Regions from separate parts of the Homo sapiens genome. Here all the other regions are linked to region 1. The links are contacts of gene promoters, found by promoter capture Hi-C in human tissues and cell types (Jung and others, 2019). All regions are on one chromosome and are shown on one strand. The core of a region is centred on a gene start or on the middle of the fragment in contact, and the rest is flanking DNA. Distances in the headings are between cores, read along the strand shown. Region 1 holds the start of SYNC (syncoilin, intermediate filament protein). Region 2 overlaps HDAC1 (histone deacetylase 1). Region 3 overlaps BSDC1 (BSD domain containing 1).

What was found. Contacts are between HindIII fragments. The study calls those that stand out against the background at their distance.
Region 2: a fragment that was not itself captured here is called in contact with the fragment with the promoter of SYNC in region 1 in 1 of the 25 tissues and cell types used here (pancreas).
Region 3: a contact is called between a fragment that was not itself captured here and the fragment with the promoter of SYNC in region 1, in 1 of the 25 tissues and cell types used here (psoas muscle).

What each region holds. Positions count from the first base shown.
Region 1 is chr1:32,700,416-32,705,013 of GRCh38, forward strand. SYNC (syncoilin, intermediate filament protein) reads right to left here and starts at 2,355. Exons shown (of 5, transcript NM_030786.3): 1 at 2,193-2,355. The coding sequence starts at 2,245. RefSeq lists enhancers at 1,823-2,588, 2,589-3,354 and silencers at 2,715-2,764, 2,815-2,904. The HindIII fragment of the contact is 12,190 bases long and covers 1-4,598 here.
Region 2 is chr1:32,317,817-32,322,414 of GRCh38, forward strand. All of the region lies in intron 3 of HDAC1 (histone deacetylase 1), which reads left to right. Among named protein-coding and RNA genes, the nearest start is that of MARCKSL1, 16 kb to the right of the region's middle. The HindIII fragment of the contact is 4,777 bases long and covers 1-4,598 here.
Region 3 is chr1:32,366,539-32,371,136 of GRCh38, forward strand. BSDC1 (BSD domain containing 1) reads right to left here. Exons shown (of 11, transcript NM_018045.8): 10 at 1,909-2,012; 11 at 1-116. The coding sequence ends at 84. Among named protein-coding and RNA genes, the nearest start is that of TSSK3, 6.3 kb to the left of the region's middle. The HindIII fragment of the contact is 7,750 bases long and covers 1-4,598 here.

The sequences.
Region 1 (4,598 bases), core at 1,105-3,604:
CTGGGTGCAGTGGCTCACGCCTGTAATCCCAGCACTTTGGGAGGCCGAGGCGGGTGGATCACCTGAGGTCAGGAGTTTGAGACCAGCCTGGCCAACATGGTGAAACTCCGTCTCTACTAAAAATACAAACGATTAGCTGGGTATGGTGGTGTGTGCCTGTAATCCTAGCTACTCAGGAGGCTGAAGCAGGAGGATTGCTTGAACCTGGGAGACAGAGGTTGCAGTGAACTGAGATTGCGCCATTGCCCTCCAGCCTGAGCAACAAGAGCAAGACTCTGTCTCAAAAAAAGAAAGAAAGAAAGAATCTTCATCTATTATCTCCATTTTATAGATGAGGAAGCCAATGCACAGAGTAAGAACTCACACAAGGTTCCACAACTGTTGTAAGTGGTGGAGGCTGGAGAAGGCCTGCAGTATTTACCACCCTCCTAGGATAGGCGTGAGGTCCAAAAGAGGTAACTACAGCACATATAAAAAGCCTGGCATGCAGCAGTCACAATATACTTTTTTTTTTTTTGAGATGGAGTTTCACTCTTGTTGCCCAGGCTGGAGTGCAATGGTGTAATCTCCGCTCACTGCAGCCTCTGCCTCCTGGGTTCAAGCAAGTCTCCTGTCTCAGCCTCCCAAGTAACTGGGATTACAGGCACACGCCACCACGCCTGGCTAATTTTTGTATTTTTAGTAGAGCCGGGTTTCACCATGTTGGCCGGGCTGGTCTTGAACTCCTGACCTCAGGTGATCCGCACACCTCGGCGTCCCAAAGTGCTGGGATTACAGGCGTGAGCCACCGCGCCGGGCCCACAATATACTTCTATCTATCTAACAAATTTCTACTCATCCTTCAAGCCCTGCTCAAACTTCATCTCTTCCGTAAAGTATCTCCCAGACAGCCCCATGTGTGTTCTCAGGGCACTCTGTATGCAGCACATCTTCACACTTATTGCTCCAGTTACAGAAGTACATGTGTCTGTCTCCCTGATAGTGAGTTTCCTAAGGACAAGCAGAGTTCTCATTCTGCTCTATATCCTAGGGTGGGGCTCTGTAAGGGCAGACAGGCAGAAACCAGATGAACTCCAAGGAGGAAATCTGCCCAAGGTCGAATGGCAAAGCTGGAAGTAAAACCCAGGCCTCCTGACCTCCAAGCTGTGCTGTTAGCACACATCGTGCTGCCTCCACCACCCCACCCATGGTGCCAGGCCTCTGCTGGGTGCTGCCCTCACACAGCCGCCTCTTTTAAACAGAGAGAGGAGGGAAAGAAGCAGATGACAGGAGGCTCAGAGGAGAGGAAGCCAGCTTAGTTGGGGCCCCTGACCTCGGGCTTCCTTGGGCCCTGGGCAGCCTGCCTCTGCCACTCTGTCCCTGTCCCCAGAGAACCGCAGAGCTCTCCAACCCTGTTCAGGGATGTGGCTGGGAGTCCATGTGACATTGTGCAGGCAAGAGTCCGTGTGTCTGACTGTAGCTGTAGGTGTGGACAGCAGTATGGGTGAGTGTGTGTGTGTAAGACCGCTCAGCTTTGTGCCCCTGTGTGACAGTGAAGGGGTGTCGGGAGCTATGTATTTGCACCCTCACCTCTTGGTACACTGGGAAGTCCCAGAGCCACAGTATGACCTGGGACAGAAATACACCTCACCCCAAACCCCTCAGCCACAGGTCCCTTCCCCCAATAATCAGCCGTGCCCTGCCAGGAGGGATAGTGGGGAGGGCCCCTGGACCCTTCCCCCACCCATCCCAGGCCAGACGGGAGAGAACAAGCCCTGACAGACTCTTAACTTCAAGCTGGCAGATGCCCAGCCTTGCACCAAGTGGCTTCCACACAGCCACTTCAGCAGGGGAGGCCTCTGTCTCCAACTGACATTTGCAGGGAGGAATGAAGGCTAGCGAGAAGTGTCTTTGGCTGCTATGGGCCAAATGGCACTTGAGCGGTGGATGCCCACTCGCCTGGAAGGGTTAATTTTCATGTAGTCCCGGGAGGGGGAGGGGTATTATAAAAAGCCACAGACAAACGGAGGTGCCAGGACCCCGGGACGGCCCGACTCCCCGATGTCCCCTCACGAGGCGGCTCCAGTGCCCCACCCCGGCTGGACCACTACCCCTAGACAGGCGAAAGACGCCCGCGGTCGGGGGGAAAGGGAACCCGTCCAGCAGCACCCCTTCCCCAGCGGGGCGGCGACGCGGGCCCGGCACTGTCCTACCTCGCGGCCTGGGCGGCGCCGTCCCCGCCGCGCCGGGGCTCCGGGCTGGCCATGGCTGCGCGACCCCGGGCTGGCGGCCGCGTTATTAATAGCCGGGCCCGCGGGCCCCTCGCTCCGGCGCCCGCGCCCGCCGCACTGCCAGCTGCAACCGACACCGGATCCCGGCCGGCCCCGGGCCGGGCGCGCCCACTTGGCCGGGGCTCCTGCCGGGGGAGGAGGGAGCGGCCGCGCGGACCTGGGGGCGGGGAGAGGCTGCCCCTCCCGGACCAGCCTGGGGCGGGGGTGGGAACGGGGGCCTGGAGCTGTCTTTCCAAACCTCCCAGCCCCCTCGTCTTCCCGAACCTTCTCTCCACCCTTCCTTTCGTGAGGTCCCGTTGCAGGGGGAGTCAGAAGGGGGGTCTGAAGCCCCAGGGAGCACCTTCCCTGTCCAGCCTGGGAGGGTGGAGGCAGGGTTGGGCGGGCTGCTCAAAGGGAGCCAGCACCCCTCTCCCGCGAGTGTTTGGGGGTGTCCGCTGCCGCTCAGCGCCCTCTGGTCCCCACCCAAGAGGGGAAGGGCCGCAGCCACCCTCTGGGCACTCCGGGCTGTCCCCGGCAGCTGTCGTGAAGGGCGGGGCAGGGCGCGGCCGGGGAGGAGGGTTCACGGCCACACCCCGCGCGTTTGGGGACAGCCTGGAGCCTGGGGGCGGGCTGGGTGGCTGGGGTTAGAGAGAACTGCGGAGGAGTTTACGCCTATCACATTGAGTCCATATTTAACCCCACTTTCTGCCCCACCCTTTGAGGCTTCCTGGGGTCTCTCTCCTGCTCCACCTGTCACCCCACTCAGCCCACTTCTGTCAACTTCAAGACATACCTCCCCCCACGTCCTCAGCCCACTAGTGTGAGGGTCAAACCAGCACTGACGTCTTTCTCCCCAAGAGAGAAGCTGCTGGGCCCCTTCCCAGACCTGGGCTTCAGGCGTTCTTCCTTCGGATTCCTTTTTCCACTTAGCTACCCTGTCTGGGGAGGTCTTTGACTCAATCGCAGAAGAATGCTGGCACCATAACAAGCCCCAGGGGCTGGGGTGCCTGGGAGGCCGGTGGGGGAAGCATGCCGTGGTGTTGAATGTGTGTGGGCTTGTGTGCCCCTGTGTGACTCTGCGGTGATTGTGGGGTACATGTCTGTGTGTGAGCATGTGGATGTGTGATTGTGTGATCTCAGGGTGAATGTGTGTGGTGATTGTGCCATGGTGGAGTGTCTTTGTGGGGCTGGCGGTTTTGACTCTGTGTGGGGGGCATGCATATGGTCCCGCTTGTGACTCTGACTGTGTGCTTGTGCGTGACTGGGGGTTGATAAATGTTCATTCATCCTCGCGTCTGAGTGTGCTGCCTGTGGCTGTATATTTATATTTCTCTGTCTAATGCAAGGGGGTGGAAGATTTAACACCCAGGGCAGCCAAATATACCCTTGTAAGGTACGCACGAGAAAAAGCCAGGTTTTGAGGCTGCTGGTCATTTTCTGACTTACCCCCGAACTATTCCAGGGGAGGAGGCTGGCGAAGCCTCAGCTGCTGGGCATTTGACATCTGCTGCCCGCCAGAGGAGAGCTAAGGCAGCAAGGGCAGGCCTGCCAGAGGCTCTGTTTGCTGTGGTACCAAGCAACAGGCGGCAAGGGTGGCATTCAGAAGAGCTGGCTCTGCCCCTCCAACCCCCAGCCCAGGACCTGGCCTTAGGCTGTCCCTAGGACTGAATTTCTGACCCGCTCCTACCCTCCTGCTCAGCGCTTCTTTAGGCTGAAACCCTGAATTCCCCAGGGTCCCAGAAACTTCCCCACCTCCAAGCCTTTGTTGTTGTTTTTTTTGTTGCTGTTGTTTCTTGCAGTCAGGGTCTCACTCTGTCATCCAGGCAGGAGTACGGTGGTGCAATCATGGTTCACGGCAGCCTCAACCTCCTGGGCTCAGGTGATCCTCCCATCTCAGCCTCCCGAGTAGCTGGAACTACAGATGCACACCACCACACCTGGATAATTTTTGTATTTTTTGTAAAGACGAGGTCTCACTGTGTTGCCTAGGCTGGTCTCAAACTCCTAGGCTCAAGCAGTCCTCCTACCTCAGCCTCCCAAAGTGCTGGGATTACAGGAGTGAGCCACCACACCCAGCCAGGCCTTTTCTGCTGCTCCCTCTGCCTAGAAAACCCTTTCCAGCTCTTCACAGCCCACCTTTTACTCTCCTTCAGGTCTCAGATCACATCTCACAGAGGCCTTCTCTGATGCCTCCCCACCCCCTGCCCATAATGTCCACCCATTTATTTTTTTGTTATGGGCTTTTTTGTTTTGTTGGGTTTTGTAAAATTTTATTTAATAGAGATGGGGTCTCACTATGTTGTTAAGGCTGATCTCAAACTCCTGGCCTCAAGGGATCCTCCAGACTCA
Region 2 (4,598 bases), core at 1,112-3,611, 380 kb before region 1:
CCCATTTAGGCCAAGGATCAGGCTCTACTCTCAGCACAGTGGGCTCTCACTAGAGGAGCAACTTGCTATTAAAGTAAGAAAATAAGCTTTCATGTCTTAGTTTGAATCCTTGGTTTCCTAGCCCCTCTGGTGTTATTTCCCGCCCCTGCCACTTTTTTTTGAGACAGAGTTTCGCTCTTGTTGCCCAGGCTGGAGTGCAATGGGGCGATCTCTACTCACCACAACCTCCGTCTCCCGGCTTCAAGCGATTATCCTGCCTCAGCCTCCTGAGTAGCTGGGATTACAGGGATGTGCCACCACGCCCGGCTAATTTTGTATTTTTAGGTTTCTCCATGTTAGTCAGGCTGGTCTCAAACTCCCGACCTCAGGTGATATGCCAGCCTCGGCTTCCCCAAGTGCTGGGATTATAGGCCTGAGCCACTGTGCCCGACCTGTTTTCCCTCTTTAAGAGGAAGACAGGACAGGCACAGCGGTTCATGCCTGTAATCCTAGCACTTTGGGAGCCCAAGGTGGGAGGATTGCTTGAGCCCAGCCAGGAGTTTGAGACCAGCCTGGGCAACATAGTGAGACCCTCATCTCTACAAAAAAATAAAAAAATTAGCTGGGCATGGCGGTGCACACCTGTGGTCCCAGCTACTCAGGAGGTTGAGGAGGGAGGATCTTTTGAGCCTGGAAGGTCGAGGCTGCAGTGAGCCATGATTGTACTACTGCACTCCAGCCTGGGCAACAGAGCGAGACCAAAAAAAAAAAGACATTAGTGCCTATTTCATAGTCAAGGATGGGGGAATAAGTGAAGATAATATATTTAAATATATATAATATGTCTACCCTCAATGAATTGCTTTTGCTATTTTTGCTATTGCATAATCACTTTTGCTATTATGACTTACTATTTTTATTATTTACAAACTTATCAAGGCAGACAAAATGCTATGCCCTGAGGAGTGTGCAGGTTCTGCTCTGGTGCGCCAATTTTTCCGAATCCAGCATTCTAAAGTTGTACATTAAAAAATTCAGTCTGGCTGGGTGTGGTGGCTTACGCCTGTAATCCCAGCAGTTTGGGAGGCTGAGGCAAGCAGATCACCTGGGGTCGGGAGTTTGAGACCAGCCTGGCCAACATAGTGAAACCCCATCTCTACTAAAAATACAAAAATTAGCTTGGTTTGGTGGTACATGCCTGTAATTCCAGCTACTCAGGAGGCTGAGGCAGGAGAATTGCTTGAACCCAGGAGGCAGAGGTTGCAGTGAGCCAAGATCGCGCCACTGCACTCCAGCCTGGGCGACAGAGCGAGACTCCGTCTCAAAAAAAAAAAATTCAGTCTGGGTGCCTATAGTCTCAGCTACTTAGGAGGCTGAAGCAGGAAGATTTCTTGAGCCCAGGAGTTCAAGGCCAGTCTGGGTAATATAGTGAGACCTGGTCTCTAAAAAAAATTTTTCTAATTAAAATAATTAGGTCTTGGATTTTTCTGTCATCAGAAATGGGGGCAGGAAGAATAAGCCTCTCTAAGAACTTCAGAGTACCTCACTGAGTTGATTTGTAGGGTTATGGAGGGTCAGAGTAGACAGAGACTTTAGATGTCACTTAACACAGTGCTTTATAACCTGGGGTATCTACCAAGACAGTAATGAGCCCTTTTTAAAAAAAGAATTATTTTTATTTTTATTCTTGTTTTTAGAGATGGGGTCTTGCTTTGTCATCCAGGGTACAGTACAGTGGCAAGATCATAGCTCACTGCAGCCTCAAATTCCTTAATCCTTAACTTGCCCTTTTAGAATATGTACCAATATCTAACCTAGGCGCTGGACATGGTAGCATGCACCTGTAATGCCAGTGCTTTGAAGGGCAAGGCAGGAGGGATAGCTTGAGGCCAGGAGTTCAAGACCAGCCTGGGCAGCATAGTGAGACCCCCATCTCTTATTTTATCTTAAAAAAATAAAAATAAAAAATTAGTTGTGTATGGTGGCACATGCCTGTGATTCTGGCTACTCAGGAGCCTGAGGCAGGAGGATCCCTTGAGCCCAGTTCAGGGCTGCATTGAGGTATGGTCTCATTTCGCCACCACACTCCAGCCTGGGCAACATAGCAAGAACTCGTCTCAATAAAAAAAAAACACACATGGCCAGGCGTGGTGGCTCATGCCTGTAATCCCAGCACTTTGGGAGGCCGAGGTGGGCGGATCACGAGGTCAGTACATCGAGACACCATCCTGGCTAACACGGTGAAACCCCGTCTCCACTAAAAATTTACAAAAAATTAGCCGGACGTGGTGGCAGGCGCTTGTGGTCCCAGCTACTCGGGAGGCTGAGGCACCAGAATGGTGTGAACCCGACAGGCGGAGCTTGCAGTGAGCCGAGATCACGCCACTGTACTCCAGCTTGGGCGACAGAGCGAGACTCCTTCTCAAAAAGAAAAAAAAAAAAACCCACACACACACAAAAACATCCCACACACCTAATCTAGGAAGTTATGCTTATGATAAGATCGAGTAAATCAGGTTTCCTTGCTTGTGGCTGAAATGTAATAAACCCTTTCTGGTCACTTTGAGAGCCTTGACCAGAAGTTCTGACCTAATATTTAGCAAGTGAAAATGGGAACACAAATAAATGCATTTAGGGGGCTTTTGGTGAAAACATGATAAAAGGGATTGGTAAAAAATTGGGAGACATTCTCATCCATTTTACAGACATGTAAACTTTCCCAGTCACACAGCAAGGTGATGGTAGAATGCAGAATGGAACTCTAGTCCCCCAATTCTGTAGTTTTAAAAAATATAGTGTATATAAAATATTTTAGATACACAGGCCAGGCAGGGTAGCTCATGCCTGTAATCCCAGCACTTTGGGAGGCTGAGGCAGGTGGATCACTTGAGGCCAGGAGTTTGAGACCAGCCTGGCCAGCGTGGTGAAACCCTGTCTCCACCAAAAGTACAAAAATTAGCCATGTGTGGTGGTATATGCCTGTAATCCCAGCTACTCGGGAGGCTGAGGCATGAGAATTGTTTGAACCTGGAGGGCAGAGGTTGCAGTGAGCCAAGATCGCGCCACTGCACTCCAGCCTGGGCGACAGAGCAAGACTCCATCTCAAAAAAAAAAAAAAAAAAAAAAAACAGAAAAAGAAAAAAACATATTTTAGACACACACAAAAAGCATCAAAAAATAATATAATGCACTTTGGGAGGCCGAGGCGGGCAGATCACGAGGTCAGGAGATCAAGACCATCCTGGCTAACACAGTGAAACCCCATCTCTACTAAAAATACAAAAAATTAGCCGGGTGTGGTGGTGGGTGCCTGTAGTCCCAGCTACTTGGGAGGCTGAGGCAGGAGAATGGTGTGAACCCAGGAGGCGGAGCTTGCAGTGAGCTGACATTGCGCCACTGCACTCCAGGCTGGGCAACAGAGCAAGACTCTGTCTCAAAAAAAAAAAAATAATAATAATAATATAATGAACATCCATGTGTGCCCAATACCCAGCCTGAGAAAGAAAACATTATCAATACAGTTGATGCCCCCTTGGGCATCTTTCCTTGATCACATACCCTTTCTCTCCCACTCCCCCAGCCCCCCACCCCATTACCAGCACTGCCAAGGTATAAGCACTATCCTGAGGTTAGTGTTTAATCTTCCCATCTCTTTGCAATGAGCATTTGACTGCCTTCTCTGCCTACGTCTGCTTCCACCTCTCACCCAGTATTGCTTCCCTTTAGTCTAAAGCTAGTGTGAGAATGAGAAAAGCGTTTATAGCAGAAAGAGAGAAAACCCATGGAAAAGTCTTCCCTACCCTCACAGATTAGCTCACATGAGTATCTGCTCTTCCATTTGCCCCCTTTCCATCTCTAATCACATAGCTTATTGACTAGGAATAAAAGGGCTGGTCATTTGAGCTACATGTTGGTTTGGTGCCTGAAGAAAAATATTTTTTTTTTTCTCACGTCCAAAACACCCATTCCTTCCCATGGAGGCTCCATATCCCAAATAAGAGTATAAACAAAGCTTTGGAAACGCAGGCAGGCCAAACTCTGTGCAGGAGGAAGTGGCCAGAGAGGGAAATCAGTTGCCAATGGATAAACAGCCGGGGCCCAGGGACCAAAGTTCTTATTTACACAGCCTCCCAGTGTTTACCCAGGAAGTGAGGAAGAGACCCACCCGCTGCACACTCCCTCATGCAGCCATGCTTCTTCCTCAGAGCACCGGATCTTGGCACCCTCCAAGTTTAGTGCAGAACCAGAGCTGGTAACTCTTGTGGTTATTGTAGATCTTGAGCTTCAACTGTGTCTTGAGATTTTACCAGCACAATCCAAACTGAGCTCTTCTGCTCTCACCCCAGGGCTGCTCCTTCCTCTACTTTTGGAAATCTTGATAACAGTGGGTACAGTAGAAGGCTGGGCAAGAGAATAAGTATGCAGCCCCACACCTCCTGCCTCTGACTTCCTGTAGCTCATTGATGTCTCAGCAGTTACTTTTTTTTTTTTTTTCTCCTGAGATGGAGTCTCGCCCTGTCACCCAGGCTGGAATGCAGGGGTGCAATCTTGGCTCACTGCAACCTCCACGTTTTGGGTTCAAGTGATTCTCCTGCCTCAGCCTCCTGAGTAGCTGGGAT
Region 3 (4,598 bases), core at 1,498-3,997, 330 kb before region 1:
TTCTCAGTCTTCCAGGGCTGGGCTGAGACGAGCGAGGGAGGCGAGAGATGCCATGGGTGGGGGAGCTGCTCCCTCTGGCTCCCTCACTCCCAGTCCTCCCACTCTACATCTTCCAGCTGCAAATGGGAGGGGGTAATGGAAATCACAAACACATAGTTACTCCTGAGTCAGGCCCAGACCTAACCTCCACTTGCTGAGCAGAGCCACCTCCCATCCCCTACCCCAGGCCATACTCTGAGGTCCCACTGAGAGTGAACCCCTAGTCTTAAGGAATGTGTCTGAGGGGCAGAGCTGCCCTCTGCCTGAGGGGTGGGCCTGATGCTCTGATTACCTCAGACCTAAAGGAAACACTTCCCCCAACCAACACCAGACACCACAAGGTGATGGCTGCCTACAGGAACCAAGTCAGCCTCAGTCCTTTAAGGAGAACTTGCCTCCTGCTGAGCAGATAATGCCATGGCTCTGAGAAGCAGAGAACTCAGGAGGCCTGAGCAGATACTTGGCCCTGGACACAAAAGACCAGTGTAATCAAGGGCAAGTTACTTAGTCTTTGGGTGAATGGAGGCCACTGCCTGAGTGGCACTGTGGCCAAAAGCAGAGGTGGCAGTGGCCTACAGATGCCCACTAGGTCTTCACTAGGGGCACCAACACCCTAATTCCCAGCTCAAGTCTCCCCACGGAACGTTTTCTTGCTTTGTTCCTACTCTTGGCCTGCTGTCGGCTAAGCCCTGGTATAGCAGGTTCTAGAATGCTCACGTGTACTGCACGTCAGGTTTTAAAGGGGGCTGCAAAGACACAAAAAGCCAGCAAGCCCCTGTGGCCTGACAGGGCACTATGGGCTTTCTCTGTCCTGGGTATAGTGAGGTAGTCACAAGTGCAAAATACTCCTGAGTAGGTAAAATACTCCCCCAAGGCTTCAGTTTCCCATCATGAAAAAGGAGGCCCTTCACATGTCTCTCTAATCTGTCCACCTCTTTCTAACAGGCTCATAAGTTACATGATGGAAGGACTCATGTGGTTCTTATGTGACAGTGGAACTAACGCTGACATGAATCAGATGTCTGGGTTGCAGCCTCAGTCCTGTCACTTATTAGCTGGGAGAGCTTTGGACTGTTCCAGCCTCTCAATCTAAATGAGCCACTTTTGATTCTGAGAGGTAGTGAAGAATAACAGTACTAAGGCCTCCTTGAGCTTAATAACTGGAATGGGTTTTGTGGGGTTTATCACTAATGTCTCCTGAGTGCTGGTCACCATGTCTCAGGCAATAGCCCTAAGGTGTCTACATGGATCACCTCATTACAGCTTATAGCCAGGTCTTATAATGATCAATTCCATGTTTTAGATGAGGAACCAGGGGCTCAGGTTAAGTAACTTGCCCTTGCCCTTGATCACACTGGTCTTTTGTCTCCAAGGCCAAGTATATACTCAGGCCTCATACCTGAGGACCACAACTCAGAAGGTCAGGCAGGGTTTGATGTCTGTTTTCTTTTTTCCTTTTTTTTTTTTTTTCAAAAACAGAAATGGGGTCTCACTATATTGGCCAGGCTGGTCTTGAACTCCTCGCCTCAAGCAATCCTCCCACCTTGGCCTCCCAAAGTGTTGGGATTACAGGTGTGAGCCACCGCGCTCAGCATGACATCTGTTTTCTTAAGCAGTTTCTCAGGCAATTTTGATACAGAGCTAAGGTCAAGAACTTGACCCTCTATCCACCCTGGAACTGAGGAAAAGTGCAGCCTGCTGATGACCAATGTTGTGGGTCTGAGCAGGAAGCTCCAGCTCCTTTCCCACCACCTGTCACCTCAGACAGGAGCAGGGACCCTCCTGAGGGGACAGCTGGGCTGGCTGGGGAGAGCTCTCACACCCAGGACCATTAGGCTCGCTTCCCTCTGACCCACCAGGCCCACTCACCTCCCCGGAGGCATCCACTTTGGAAAGTGCCATCTGCACCTCCTCTTCAGTCATGTCCAAGTCAAAGTCTTTCTCCCAGTCCTCACTGATGTCCGTGCTTGAGCCTGGAACCACGAGCCACAGTGTGAAAAGCAGGAGGAGGCAGGGAAGGGGCACCTGAAGAGGGTGTAGCTGGGGAGATAGCATGCTTCAAAAGGGTCTCACAAATACACAAGTCTTTACATTTTGTGTTCACTCTGGCGCACCAATCGTACTTTTTTTTTTTGTTTTCTTAGATGGAGTCTTGCTGTCACCCAGGCTGGAGTGCAGTGGTGTGATCCCGGCCCACTGCAACCTCTGCTTCCCAGGTTCAAGCGATTCTCCTGCCTCAGCCTCCCAAGTAGCTGGGACTACAGGCGCACGCCCCACACACCTGGCTAATTTTTGTATTTTTAGTAGAGACGGGGTTTCACCATGTTGGCCAGGCTGGTTTCAAACTCCTGACCTCAATGATCTGGCCACCTCGGCCTCCCAAGGTGCTGGGATTATAGGTGTGAGCCACCGCACCTGGCCCCCACTTTTAAGAATCTATTCTAAGGAAAAATCTTGGATTCAGTCAGAAATTTAGCAAAGAGTGTTCACTGCAGTGCTGTCATAGTGATGGAAACCTAGAAACAATCTGAAAGCCCACTGACAGGGAATTAGACAAGTAAACAGTGAGTTACATGGTGGAACACTGTAGGCTGTTAGAGGTTAGGCTGGAGAAGAACTTCACATCCATGCCAAACAGCCTTAAACTATTACCTCGGAAAAGGCAGGTTACTAAAGAGCGGAGAAGCACTTTGGCCCAGAGGCTCCAAGAGAGTCACAGAAATCTTCCAGAGGAAATCAACAGTGAACTGAGACCTTGTCTCTAGAAAAAAATTTAAAAATTAGCCAGGCATGGTAGTACACACCTAAGGAGTCCCAGCTACTCAGGAGGCTGAGGTGTGGTGATCACTTGAGCCCAGGAGTTCAAGGCTGCAGTGAGCTATGATCATGCCACTGCAGTCCAGCCTGTTGACAGTGCAAAACCCTGTCTCTAAAGAAAACAAAAACCTCCCCTCGGACCCCCAAACAGTAGACCTCTTCTTCCTCACTCCATTCTGCCCACACTAATCTTGTTCCTCCAGAAACATACCAGGCGCATTCCCAACTTAGGGCTTTTGCATGGGCTGTTCCCTGCACCTGGAACTCGTATCCTCAGATATCTACAAGACCAACTTTTCACCTCCTTCATGCCATTGCTCAAATCGTACCTTCTAGATGTGGCCTACACTGACCATCCTAGTTTAAAGAGCAACCCATCATCACCCTCACTCTGCTCTAGTTGTTCTTTTTTTTCTGAGACAGAGTCTCGCTCTGTCACCCAGGCTGGAGTGCAGTGGCACGATCTCAGCTCCCTGCAACCTCCGCCTCCTGGGTTCAAGAGATTCTCTTGCCTCAGCCTCCTGAGTAGCTGGGATTACAGGCACCTGCCTGGTACCACATCCAGCTAATTTTTGTATTTTTACTTATTTATTTATTTTTTGAGACGGAGTCTCGCTCTGTTGCCCAGGCTGGAGTGCAGTGGCGCGATCCTAGCTCACTGCAACCTCTGCCTCGCAGGTTCAAGTGATTCTCCTGCCTCAGCCTCCTGAGTAGCTGAGATTACAGGGGCATGCCACCATGCCTGGATAATTTTTGTATTTTTAGTAGAAACGGGGTTTCACTATGTTGGCCAGGCTGGTCTCAAACTCCTGACCTTAGGTGATCCGCCTGCTTTGACCTCCCAAAGTACTGGGATTATAGGCGTGAGCCACTGCGCCTGGCTCTGGATTGTTCTTTTTCCCATTGTAGTGATCACTTTCTAACATATTACATAATCAGACTTAATATGTTTATTGTATATTAATAGAGGAGTTAGAATATAAGCCCTGTGAGTGCCAGGATCTTTTGTTTTGTTCTCTTATGTATTTCAAGTTTTTAGAACACATAGTTGGCACTCAATAGTCACAGACCCTTTCTGTAAACCAGGGGTTGGCAAACTATGGCCCAGGGATCAAATCTAGCCATGTCGCCGGGCGTGGTGGCTCACGCTTGTAATCCCAGCACTTTGGGAGGCCGAGACAGGTGGATCACGAGGTCAGAAGATCGAGACCACCCTGGCTAATGTGGTGAAACCCCATCTCTACTAAAAATACAAAAAATTAGCTGGGGGTGGTGGCAAGCGCCTGTTAGTCCCAGCTACTCGGGAGGCTGAGGCAGAAGAATCGCTTGAACCCGGGAGGCAGAGCTTGCAGTGAGCCAAGATCCCGCCATTGCACTCCAGCCTGGGTGACAGAGTGAGACTCCGTCTCAAAAAAAAAAAAAAAAAAAAAAAAAAAAATTCTAGCCATGTCACATCATTTGTTTACATACTGTCTATGGCTGCTTTCATGCTGCAAGAGCGGAGATGAGTAATTTTGACTGCATGGCCCAAAAAGCCTAAAATATTTATGGTCTGGTCCTATACAGAAAAAGCTTACCACCCTCTGCTCTAGATGATTCTGATGCCTGTCTGTACTATTTGATGATCATTGCTCTAAACATTCATATTTGGCTATGACTTCTTACAGGTAATATTAAAAAGATATATATAAAAGTTATTACTAAGAAGTAAACTACACAAATAGTTCCTTTCAATAAAGCAT